Linked DNA regions of Homo sapiens: regions 1, 2 and 4 are each linked to region 3. The links are contacts of gene promoters, found by promoter capture Hi-C in blood cells and fetal thymus (Javierre and others, 2016). All regions are on one chromosome and are shown on one strand. The core of a region is centred on a gene start or on the middle of the fragment in contact, and the rest is flanking DNA. Distances in the headings are between cores, read along the strand shown.

Region 1 (2,700 bases), core at 79-2,578, 5.4 Mb before region 3:
TAAATAAAAGCAGGTCACCCATGGGGAGCACAGAAGTTCACATCAAATGATTCAGGGCTAAAGCTTTGACCTGTGGGAGGATGTTGACAACTAACTGGCTTTTACATGAAATCCACCGTAAAACACAAGTGGTGTTGGTCAGCCGACAGCTTACGCTATTCTGTCTAATAAATTAGCCACTAGCCACATGTCACTAAATTTAAATTAATTGAAATTAAACAAAATTAAAAATGCAGTTCCTCAGTCACAGTAGCCACATTTCAATTGCTCAATGGCCACATATAACTAATGAACAGTGCAACAGAAAATCACCTCTGCAGCAAGTTCTGCTGGACAACACTGGCTTAAAAGTTTCATATGGGTTAAACATCAAGGCAACATTCATGAATAGCTGGTGAATTTAACTAATGTCCACGTCAAAATTAATTTTCCTTAAAGAATCTGAGGCTTATCAAAATTTGTTTCCTGATGGTGCAATTTTTCAAGCTGTTAGAGCATTCTTGATCACTGTTTATATCAGTGCATGTGAATGCATTCAGAGAGATTCTATAAAGGAGGCTGTCCTTGCTTTTCTTGATTGAGTTTTTGAATTCTATCATTAGCCTCAACATCTCTGCAATTATTCATATCTGGTTATTAACATGTTATTTCTATACTCCTCCTCCTCCTTGTCTCCTCCCTCACCCCCACATTCTCAGACTTGGAAGCTGGGGAGACTGTGAGATTCTTAAAGTGATCATTATTTTGCTAGCAGCTGGTTCTTAACAGTCCCTGTTTTGAGACACAGGTGACAAGATCTGTTTCCGTGGCTGCCTTGTTCTACTTCTATTCCTAATGGATCACAAGTCTTGGGATAAAGTGATGTTATACATTGTAGTGTCTGCAGGGCAGCACTTTATGGTATGCTGGGAAGAATCTAAATGTAACATGTGTTGCCAATGCATTTACAGTCATTAGTTAACCAAGCCGCCCATGTGCCTGTCTCAGCTCCCTGACCCACATTTCATCCATGCTCTGCTGTTTTTCTCCTGCAGGGTTATTTCCTGAGTAAATCCCAGAGCTTATGAGTCCCCCAGCAGAGAGCTCTGTTCTGACCTCCCTAAACAGGCAGTTTCACCTGCTGGGCTAGTGTTTTTCTGCTTCTTAGTCAATCTGTTAAAATTTTAGCAGGAGATACTTGGATACCTTTTCAGAAAACATATGGAAGATTGTAATTATTTTGGCCCAGTACAATTTTAGAATTGAGAGAGCAAGGAAGAGGCGCAAATCTCCTGCTCATAAATAACCAAATCTGTGGGCACTTTAAAAAGCATTCTGTGCAGCAAGAGAATTTACGTGCCACATTTCACCCTTGGCACACTTTCCAAATGAATTGTTCAAAGAGAAGTTATATTAGGACAAATAGAAATGACGACCAGGACCAGATGTGGATCTTTAGTTAATATTTATGCAACACCCAAAGGGAAGATAGTATTGCACAATAAACTAAAAATGTCTTAGGCAAATAAGGAAATCTTTACCCTGAGGAACTGGCACTGCAAAGGTATGAATTATACAACAAAGGACTGAGAATGCAGAACAAATGCAGGGTAGGTCGGGGCTACTATAAAAAGGAATTCATTGAGGAAGTGGTGAGGTAGCAGATGTGTGGAGCCTACTTCAGGAAAATAAGGGCTTAGCGCTTTTTTGGCCAGTATTGTGTCTAAGGTAGAAAATTCAAGCCAGCCATCCTAATTTCCTTCACCTGTGGAGAGCAACTGTCGCTTTAAATAGAACATACACATATTCAGAACTGATGCTGCAACCTTACATCAAATAAGTACACCTTGATAAACTAAAAACCTATGTCCTCAGATTTTAAATGATCTCCAACAATAATGATGACATCTTTAATCTGATTTTCCTCCTAAAGTTGTTCCAGGAAGGTAGAAAATTCAGGAATTGGCTGCTTCTCAGCCCTTGGAGAGCAATCTAAAAGAGACCATGGCTTAATGCTCTGGAAGGATATTGAAACCTACATTAAATTATAATAGAAAAATTTGTTAAAAGCAACTGGATTTCTCAAACACAGCTAGGTTTTCAGCCTTCTGTTTATCAGGGAAGGCAAGATGTGCCATTTTACAGCCCATCTCCCAGTCACCTAGGCTTCCAATTCAGAGGTATTGGGAGGTGGGGAAAGGAGAAAACGAGGAGATGGAGGAGTGTATAAAATTTATTTAAAACTATTGGAGCCATGGCTGGGCGCAGTGGCTCATGCCTATAATCCCAGCACTTTGGGAGGCCAAGGCAAGTGGATAACTTGAGGTCAGGAGTTCAAGACCAGCGTGGGCAACATGGTAAAACCCCCGTCTCTATTAAAAATACAAAAATTAGTCGGGCTTGATGGCACACACCTACAATCCCAGCTACTGGGGATGCTGAGGCAGGAGAATCGCTTGAGCCCGGGAGGCAGAGGTTGTAGTGAGCCAAGATCGGGCCACTGCACTCCAGCTTGGGCGACAGAGTGAGATTCTGTTTCAAAAAAAAAAAAAAATTAAAAATTAAATTAAACTATTGGAGCCTTAAAAATGAACACAGCTGTGGAAAAGGCTTACAAGCTTTTAGCATGTGGAACCCAAAGCTCTCTAATATTTTTACATATCTGAGTCCTCTTAATAACTGAAGAGACCTGTCCATGTGACTCCCCTTCACGGGTATTCC
Region 2 (2,700 bases), core at 98-2,597, 5.4 Mb after region 3:
GTTGGTCAGGCTGGTCTGAAACTCCTGACCTCAGGTGATCCACTCACCTCAGCCTCCCAAAGTGCTGGGATTACAGGCATGAGCCACCACACCTGGCTTGAGCTTACATTCTAATAGGGGAAACAGACATTAAAAACTAATACAATTTGATGTGACAAGTTTTTAAACTGAGATATAGAAGATGCAATGAGGAGTATATAGAAGACAGAGAGAAGGCTTCTTCATCCATCCAACATTTATCCCAGGCTCGGTGGCTCACACCTGTAACCCCAGCACTTTGGGAGGCCAAGGCAGGTGGATCACCTAAGTTCAGGAGTTCGAGACCAGCCTGACCAACATAGTGAAACCCCATTTCTACTAAAAATACAAAAATTAGTCAGGCGTGGTGGCAGGCATCTGTAATCCCAGCTACTCAGGAGGCTGAGACAGGAGAATTGCTTGACTCCAGGAGGGGGAGGTTGCAGTAAGCTGAGATCATGCCATTGTACTCTGGCTTAGGTGACAGAGTGAGACTCTGTCTCAAAAAAACAAAACAAAACAAAAACATTTATTTGGTTAGCGCCCACTAAGTGCCAGACACTATATTAGACTCTGCAAGTAAAATTATGAGCAAAATCAGATGAAGAACTACTCTTATGGGGCCAGGCACGGTGGCTCACACCTGTAATCCCAGCACCTTGGGAGGCCGAGACGGGTGAATTACTTTAAGTCAGGAGTTCAAGACCAGTCTGGCCAACAGAGTGAAACCCCATCTCTACTTAAAATACAAAAACGAGCTGGCCACGTCCCTGTAATCCCAGCTACTCAGGAGGCTGAGGCACGAGAATCGCTTGAACCCGGGAGGCAGAGGTTGCAGGAAAAAAAACTACCCTTATGGGCTTACGGGGAATGGAAACATAATGTTAATAGAATTGTCACCGAGTAAGTGCAAAATATTATGTTAGTCAGGGTTCTTGGTTACAGGCATGGAAACTGACTCAGGCTGACTTAAACAGAAAAGGAATTCACTGGGAGGACATGGGGTGGTTCACACGATCACAGGAAAGGCTGCAGACCAGGCTCAAAAAACTTACCGGCATTCCTCCTCCCAAGTTTTCTTTTTTCTTTTTTTCCTTTGTTTGGAGACAGGTTCTTGCTCTGTCACCCAGGCTGGAATGCAGTGGTAAGATCATAGCTCATTGAACCCTCAAGCTCCTGGGCTTAAGCAATCCTGCAACCTCAGCTTCAGCCTCCTGAGTAGCTGGGACTACAGATGCACCACCACAGCCGGCTAATTTTTCTTTTTCTTTTTGTACAGATGGCACCTCGCTATGCTACCCAGGCTAGTATCTAACTCCTGGCCTCAAACAATCCTCTCGCTTGGACCTCCAAAGTGTTGGTATTACAGGCATGAACCACCATCCCAGCCACCTCCCCAGTTTTCCATTGGACTCTTCTCCTCTGCCCTCTTCTAGGTATAACTTTCCTAAATCCAGAATCTTTGGGATTTGTATTTCCATTTCCAACTGGGGTAGGCTGTTAGATATGGGAGTCTGAGGTCTAATTGTGCTTTATGCTGATTTTCAAATATTCCATCACTTTTCAGCCCCCTCATCCCTCCTGCCTTCCTAAATACTTGATGCCACCAATTCCTGAGCCTTGGTGCAACTTGCATGCTTGACTTTGCTCTACCAAGTCAGGTATTCCAGTTTCTGTCGGCTTCCATTTTTGTTCTCATTGTTGTTTGGATGTGATTTTTGAGAGATGAGGGCAAAAACAACTTTGAGTTGATGTATTTTGTTGTCTTTGAGGCACAAGATTATTCACATAATTTTTTTTTTGAGATGGGGGTCTCACTCTGTCACCCAGGCTGGAGTGCAGTGGCACAGTCTCGGCTCACTGCAACCTCTGCCTCCCAGGTTCCCAGTTTGAAACGATTCTCCTGCCTCAGCCTCCTGACTAGCTGGGATTACAGGCACCTGCCACCATGCCAGGCTGATTTTTGTATTTTTTAGTAGAGATGGGGTTTCACCATGTTGGCCAGGCTGGTCTGGAACTCCCAACCTCAAATGATCCACCTCCCTTGGCCTCCCAAAGTGCTGGGATTATAGGCATGAGCCACTGTGCCTGCTCTAATTTTTATATTTTTAGTAGAGATGGGGTTTCACCATGTTGGCCAGGCTGGTCTTGAACTTTTGACCTCAGGTGATCTGCCTGCCTCGGCCTCCCAAAGTGCTGGGATTACAGGTGTGAGCCACCATGCCTGGTCATTTACAGATTTTTAAAAAATTAACATTAAATTGATTGAAGTAACAGTAAAGTGTAGTTTTTCCTCAAGTCTTCAAGTTTGATTTATAGTTCTTATTATTCTTTTTTTTTTTTAATTTAAGTTCTGGTATATATGTGTAGAACGCGCAGGTTTGTTACATAGGAATACATGTGCCGTGGTGGTTTGCAGCACCTATCAACTGGTCATCTGGGTTTTAAACCCCACATGCATTAGGTATTTTTCCTAATGCTCTCCCTCCCCTTGCCCCCCACCCCCGACAGGCCCCGGTGTGTGATGTTCCCCTCTCTGTGTCCATGTGTTCTCAATGTCCAGCTCCCACTTATGAGTGAGAACATGAGGTGTTTGGTTTTCTGTTCCTGTGTTAGTTTGCTGAGAATGATGGCTTCCAGCTTCATCTATGTACCTGCAAAGGACATGAACTCATTCTTTTT
Region 3 (2,888 bases), core at 188-2,687:
GAATGTTGGACTTAAAAGGTTCTGTGGCAGTTTGGGAGGTGACAGTTGATAGTTGTGAAAGTTGTTGTCTCTGAGATTCGTGAAACACGCCGCTTTTTAGAATGCCTCTGAAAGAACAAAGAAGTCACTGGCACTCGACTATAATATGCTAAAAAGTTTCTGGTTCCAACAGCACACAGCCAGCATCAGGTGTTTTCTTTTTTGATAAATGCAGGCGGGGTGTGATGTGGGAGAACATTTTGTGTTTTCCTGTGAGAAAAAGATAGTAGAAAAGAAAGTAAACACTTTGAAATGGCAAATCTCTTTCTTCCTCCCTCCCCTCTGAATCCAGTAATCAAAAAACTGTGAACTTTTTTTAAATTTTATTTTTTTTCACTGTCAGTATTCAATATAACTGTGAACTTTTTAAAGGAAGATGTTTTATTCTTTGAGAACCCCCTTACTAGTTAGATACCTCTAAGTGAGATATAGTTGTTTAATTTTTCCAAGGGCTAAGTCAGTAACATGCTGGACAGTTGAGTACATGCAGATAAGACAAAGAAATGAGACCTGGGCCTAGTCCAAGCCCATAAAGGATGGCAGTAAAGTCAAAATTCCCCTACAACTTCAGGCTAGGAACTACTACATTCAATGAGATGGAAAGGCTACTATTCCTAAATATTTAGTATTTATTTTATTTAGTCATTGTCCATCTTATCACTTACCCTCAAAATATTCTTTTGAGCAGTAAGTTAAGGCTGTTTTTAGCTCGCAGTTGATTGACTACCATTACTCAAGCCATTTGGGCTGTTGGAGCTCACCTTTAATTAAACAAGATTCTTATGAAAAACTTGAGAATGAAATCTGGTTGTAGGTATTCCTGTACTTTTGGATTAGTCTAAGGCTGAAATTTCGCACTCACTCCGAAAAGAACATCAGAATCATTTCGACCATGCTATGCTGCACAATAAGGAGTAGTTCAAACGACAACTTTTTTTGATCCCAGGTGTTTTATTATAGGGTTTTCTGATAGTCTTACCGGAAAGGAAGTTTTCATTCTGCTTGGGAATCTGGGGATGTCTCTAGCCATTTCTAAACTTCTACAGTGCTTCCCCCACGAACTAAAGATAACAGGCAAGCAGTTTCCATTGGAACTGTGTTAAATCGACATCTGAAATGTTCATTGCTTATAATTTGATCTTATTTAATTTCCCAAAAAATCATTAGTTACTAGGTATTGCTAAGTACCCACGTTCGGGAAACGCATCTTTTTTTTTTTTTTTTCACGGTTATTAAAACCGAGGGTGGGGGGCGGAGGACGCACGTGGGAACCCACCAGGCGCCTCAGCTTCTGCACTACAACTCCCAGAAGGCGCCGCGGCCAGGAAGCCGCTTCTGGACGGGCGTTCCCGCCCCTCGCTGGGCTTGGTAGTTGGGGCGCAGCCGCGGTGGCTGGGCGCGGAGTGTGCGTGGCCTGAGCCGTGCGGGTGACTGCTTCAGGGCTTCTCCGCGACTGGACCGGGCGCCGCTCGAAAGCACGCCCTCCATTCGCACTGCTTGTTGGGCTCATCATGAAGCGCTTGGGCTCCGTGCAGCGGAAAATGCCGTGTGTGTTTGTGACGGAGGTGAAAGAGGAGCCTTCCTCCAAAAGGGAGCATCAGGTACGGAGGAGCGCCGGGCAGGCTTGGCGGCCCGCGTGGGCTCCTCCCCGCGGCGCTGGCTCAGTGCGAACCCGGCGAGGGCGGCTGGGCGCTTTAGAACTGCCCTGCAGGCCAGGAACCTCTGTAGGTTTCCCTGGGGAGGTCTGGGGTGGGAGTTCCGTACGCCCTGAGCTCCAGGTTCTTGTACTTTTCTTAGTTGTGAGGGAGGGAATTTGCGAAAGAATTTTCCTTATCAGGAGATTCAAACTTGTCCTCGCAAGGAAATGGATAACTCACATCCACAGCATGTCCCTTCCTTTTCAGGTCAGCACCTTTTGGGGAAACCCCCTAATCAGGTAATTGCCACAGTCCAAGCTTTACTACTTTTCAAGAGTGCAGTAAGAAAGGGTGGATATTAGAAGACTTGCTTTACCTGTTCTGTCCGAACCAGTGGCGGTGTTGACAGTAGCCTAATTAGGTCACTGAAGTTCACACCTCATATTACCAGTAATTACTTAATTTATTCTAACTTTGGTGTTCTCAAGGTTTTCTGTTGCAGCAACGTGTTTTCCATAGTGTGCCCTCGGTAAATGCTAGTGAGTAACCTATATTTGGGTAATTTTTTCATATTGTACTATAAAACGTTGTAGTCTTTGATCAGTAGAATCCCCAGTGATTAGTTGGGTGCTTCCCAACTTTGCTGATTTCAAACAAAACCAACATGTCCATTGGAAATCCACCTCACTTGAGTTTCATCATTGGCACTGGCTTTCTCGTCTTCTGGACTAAAACTTGTTTAAGGCAAAGATTGCCCTGTTATCTTTAGTCCCAGCTTCTAGGACCTGGCACGTGGTAGGCACTGGATAAATATTTGTTGAATTAAAGAATGAACCCTGGAATCATTTCATGCCAGTTTTCCATTCACCTTGATGCTTTTTACCTTATAGCATCTGATCTTTTCCTGCTTTCTAGTGCTGTCACAGCTGTTACAGTTAATATTTCATGTCCTGCTCATTGCACCACCTAACTGGTCTTACTTGCCACTCAGACTGATCATCACCATGTTCTTTCCTCGTCAGAATACCACAGTTATTACTCAATGTTTGTAGCAGTAATTGGCTTTTTTTTTTAGCTGTAACAAATGTAATCCATATGAAACATTATCATCTGTTTTAGTATTTCACTCTACTGTGATTTTCAACTTCGTATGTTTGAGGGGAGTAGTTTGTGAAAGTATTCTCCACCAGGGAAAATAAGCAGCCCCTTCTC
Region 4 (2,700 bases), core at 189-2,688, 5.3 Mb after region 3:
AAAGACCAGTGCCTGCTCTGAGCTCTCCAGTGGTCCCCAGCCTCTCAGTCAGGCCTCACAGGCCCCTCTGCCAGAGGCGGAACCAGCTTGCCTCCGCTCTGCAGCCACACTGGCCTTTTCTTTCATTTCTGAGAACTCTCCTCACTCCCTCCCACTTTGGGCTCTGCAGAAATCCCAGTTCCCTTTGCCTTGAAAGCTCTTGGTCAATTTAGCTCCTCCTCCTTCAGCCCTCAGCTCCTGCCTTGCTGCCCCAATAATCTTTTTCTGACTGCAGATCTGGTCAAATCTTTGTCTGAAACCTTAGAGCCCATTACATTTGTAGTTTTACGTGTACACGTGTGATCATTTAATATTTGACGGTGTGCTCTCAGGTGCCTACGCTCCTGGAGAGGCAGGGGCTGACTGGTTTTGTTAGATGCCAGTGCCTGACACACAATAGGCCCTCAAGGGGTGAAAAACCAACCAACCAAGTCAGGACCCAAGCAACCTGGGCCTCTGTGGAAGGGCAGAATGGCCTGAGTTTGGGTTTCTCGAGCTACCTTAAGATCAGGCCTCCTGGCTCCTATCTTAGCCCTTCTAACACTCTGAAGTGTAGAGGTTGTTTGTTCCAAGTCCCCAAGGTACTGTAAGCTCCCAGATAGCAGAAATCCCATTATATTTTAGTGCTGTGGCCCCAGCATCCAGCTGCGCTGTTACTTAGCATGAGATCCACATGAAAACCATTTCGCAACTATTAGCCATTGCCAGTATTAATACTTTCCGGAAGGTGGCACAAAGTGGGGGATGTTATAGACAGCTTCAAAGAAACGTTTAAGCTAGAGTTGACTCTTTAAATAATACAAGCCATCCCCAACCAAAGATTAAAAATTTAAATACAAAAAAAAAAAAAGGAAATTTGCCTACCCCCCATTTGTGAAAACAAAGAAAAAAAAAACAGTTAACGTCTTAACTTTTCTAGGCCTTCACTCTCGCCTCTCCCCGCGCTACAAGGGCGAATTCTGGACGTATCTACACAGTCACCGCGGAGTCTGCAATCGCCGCGACGTCCCCTGGCATTTCTTGGCCAGGCTGCAACTTTGGTGACGGTGTATGTAGTTACATCCCCTGTAGTGCAGCTGGTATTTAGGGTCCTCATTGGCAAAGTTGAGGGTATAAGCAGGGAGGGAGGGGACCTTGGCTTCTTTCCATTCACTGGCATGTTTTCGGGGCACGGTCATCCCACGCTGGGCTCCAGCGCCAGTCCCAAGGCCTCGCCGAACTCCAGCCCGGGAGTGCGCGCGGCCCCGCCCACCGGGCGGCCGAGGTCCCGCCCCTACCTCCCCCGCCACACCTACCCACCCACCCCATTGCAATGGTCTCTGCACGCAGGCGCAGTGGCGCGCGGGGGAGGCGGGGCGCATGTGGGCTTCATTTAAACAGAGCAGAGGGGGCGGCGCGCGGTCGCCGCGGTGCTGCTGCTCAGTGGGAGCGGGTCTTCGCAACTGTCTCCGCGTGGCGCGCGCCTCTAGCCGCCCTTCCCCTGGCGGCTACGGCCGGAGGGAGCGGAGGCGAGCGGGAGTCGGGCTCCATGGAGAGCGGCGGACAACTGGGCAGAGGCGGAGCTTTCATCTCGGCACCCTGGTTCCAGTGACCCGCGCTAGCGTCCCGTCCCGCCCGCGTCGGAGCGGCCGCCGGCCCCGGGACTGACCGGCCTCGCCGCACCTCCCGCACCGACTAGCGCTCCCGGGCGCTCCTGCGCCCGACTCGCCCTCGCCCCCACTCCCCGGCGGGGTGGCGGCGGCCGGGCCCCCACGGCGGCGGCCGGAGCAGCAGCAGCAGCAGCAGGAGCCCGCCTCTATGATGAAGTTCAAGCCCAACCAGACGCGGACCTACGACCGCGAGGGCTTCAAGAAGCGGGCGGCGTGCCTGTGCTTCCGGAGCGAGCAGGAGGACGAGGTAGGGCGCCCGGCGCCGCACGCTGCCCTCCGGGGCGCCGGGGTCTAGGGCCCGGGTGCTTCCCCTCGCTCCCCGCCCCTGCGCAGGCTGCGGGGCTGGGAGGGATTAGCCCCCTTCCTCCCTCCCTCCTTTCCTCCCTCACTCCTTTCCTCCCTCACTTCTTCCTTCCTTTCTCTGGGCTGATAGATGAGACAAAGGGGGCTCGCCCAGCCCCAGTTTCTCCATCTGGGCACTCGAGAAGGCGCCTGGTCCCCGGGAAGGTCCCGGGCCGCGTAAGTCTCGCCTAGCGGGAGTCACCATCTTAACGTGCGAATTGAGTTGAAAGCCGGATAAACCTCGAGTGCTCAGCGAGAGGAGGGTGGAAATGGCGTGAGTGTTGCAGCAGAGCCCTTGTGCCTCTTTTACATATTTTCCTTCCATGTTACAGCCGTTTGCGGTCTCGGATTCGATCTAAGCATGTTTGTGGAGTAACAGACAGTCCTCGTGCTTGGAATTGAGTCTAGTCTTGGCAATTCTTGTGGGTCCATGAACCCGCAAGCTGTTGGCATAATTATGCCTCATTTTTAAAACGGCCTTCCCTTCTTAAAGTTTTCTGACTGCAGAAAAATGGTTAGTGAAAAATGTGGAATAATGCCAAAAGGGAGACGATGGACTAGAGATGGGCAAAGCTGCCATTTTCAGACAGTAATCTCCAGCTCTCAGCTTATGTATAAAGGGTTCTTTGCTGTCTGGCTTGACATCTGGAAAGGAGTAGCCTTTCTCGTT

What was found. Contacts are between HindIII fragments. The CHiCAGO score rates a contact against its expected background, and 5 or more counts as called.
Region 1: a fragment that was not itself captured here is called in contact with the fragment with the promoter of RLIG1 in region 3 in 2 of 17 cell types (naive CD8 T cells and total CD8 T cells); the score reaches 9.4 in naive CD8 T cells.
Region 2: a fragment that was not itself captured here is called in contact with the fragment with the promoter of RLIG1 in region 3 in 1 of 17 cell types (non-activated CD4 T cells); the score reaches 5.1 in non-activated CD4 T cells.
Region 4: the fragment with the promoter of NUDT4 here is called in contact with the fragment with the promoter of RLIG1 in region 3 in 2 of 17 cell types (non-activated CD4 T cells and activated CD4 T cells); the score reaches 6.3 in non-activated CD4 T cells.

The regions. Positions count from the first base shown.
Region 1 is chr12:82,681,520-82,684,219 of GRCh38, forward strand. No RefSeq gene overlaps it. Among named protein-coding and RNA genes, the nearest start is that of TMTC2, 4.0 kb to the right of the region's middle. The HindIII fragment of the contact is 2,534 bases long and covers 62-2,595 here.
Region 2 is chr12:93,452,757-93,455,456 of GRCh38, forward strand. No RefSeq gene overlaps it. Among named protein-coding and RNA genes, the nearest start is that of UBE2N, 12 kb to the left of the region's middle. The HindIII fragment of the contact is 9,169 bases long and covers 1-2,700 here.
Region 3 is chr12:88,034,099-88,036,986 of GRCh38, forward strand. RLIG1 (RNA 5'-phosphate and 3'-OH ligase 1) reads left to right here and starts at 1,438. Exons shown (of 7, transcript NM_001009894.3): 1 at 1,438-1,640. The coding sequence starts at 1,551. LOC107984542 (a long non-coding RNA gene) reads right to left here and starts at 1,398. Exons shown (of 3, transcript XR_007063395.1): 1 at 1,316-1,398; 2 at 1-249. The HindIII fragment of the contact is 2,128 bases long and covers 1-1,992 here.
Region 4 is chr12:93,376,487-93,379,186 of GRCh38, forward strand. NUDT4 (nudix hydrolase 4) reads left to right here and starts at 1,439. Exons shown (of 5, transcript NM_019094.6): 1 at 1,439-1,935. The coding sequence starts at 1,837. It overlaps LOC643339 (a long non-coding RNA gene), which reads right to left and starts at 1,250. Exons shown (of 5, transcript NR_040096.1): 1 at 951-1,250. RefSeq lists an enhancer at 1,035-1,974 and silencers at 1,211-1,550, 1,771-2,070. The HindIII fragment of the contact is 6,665 bases long and covers 1-2,700 here.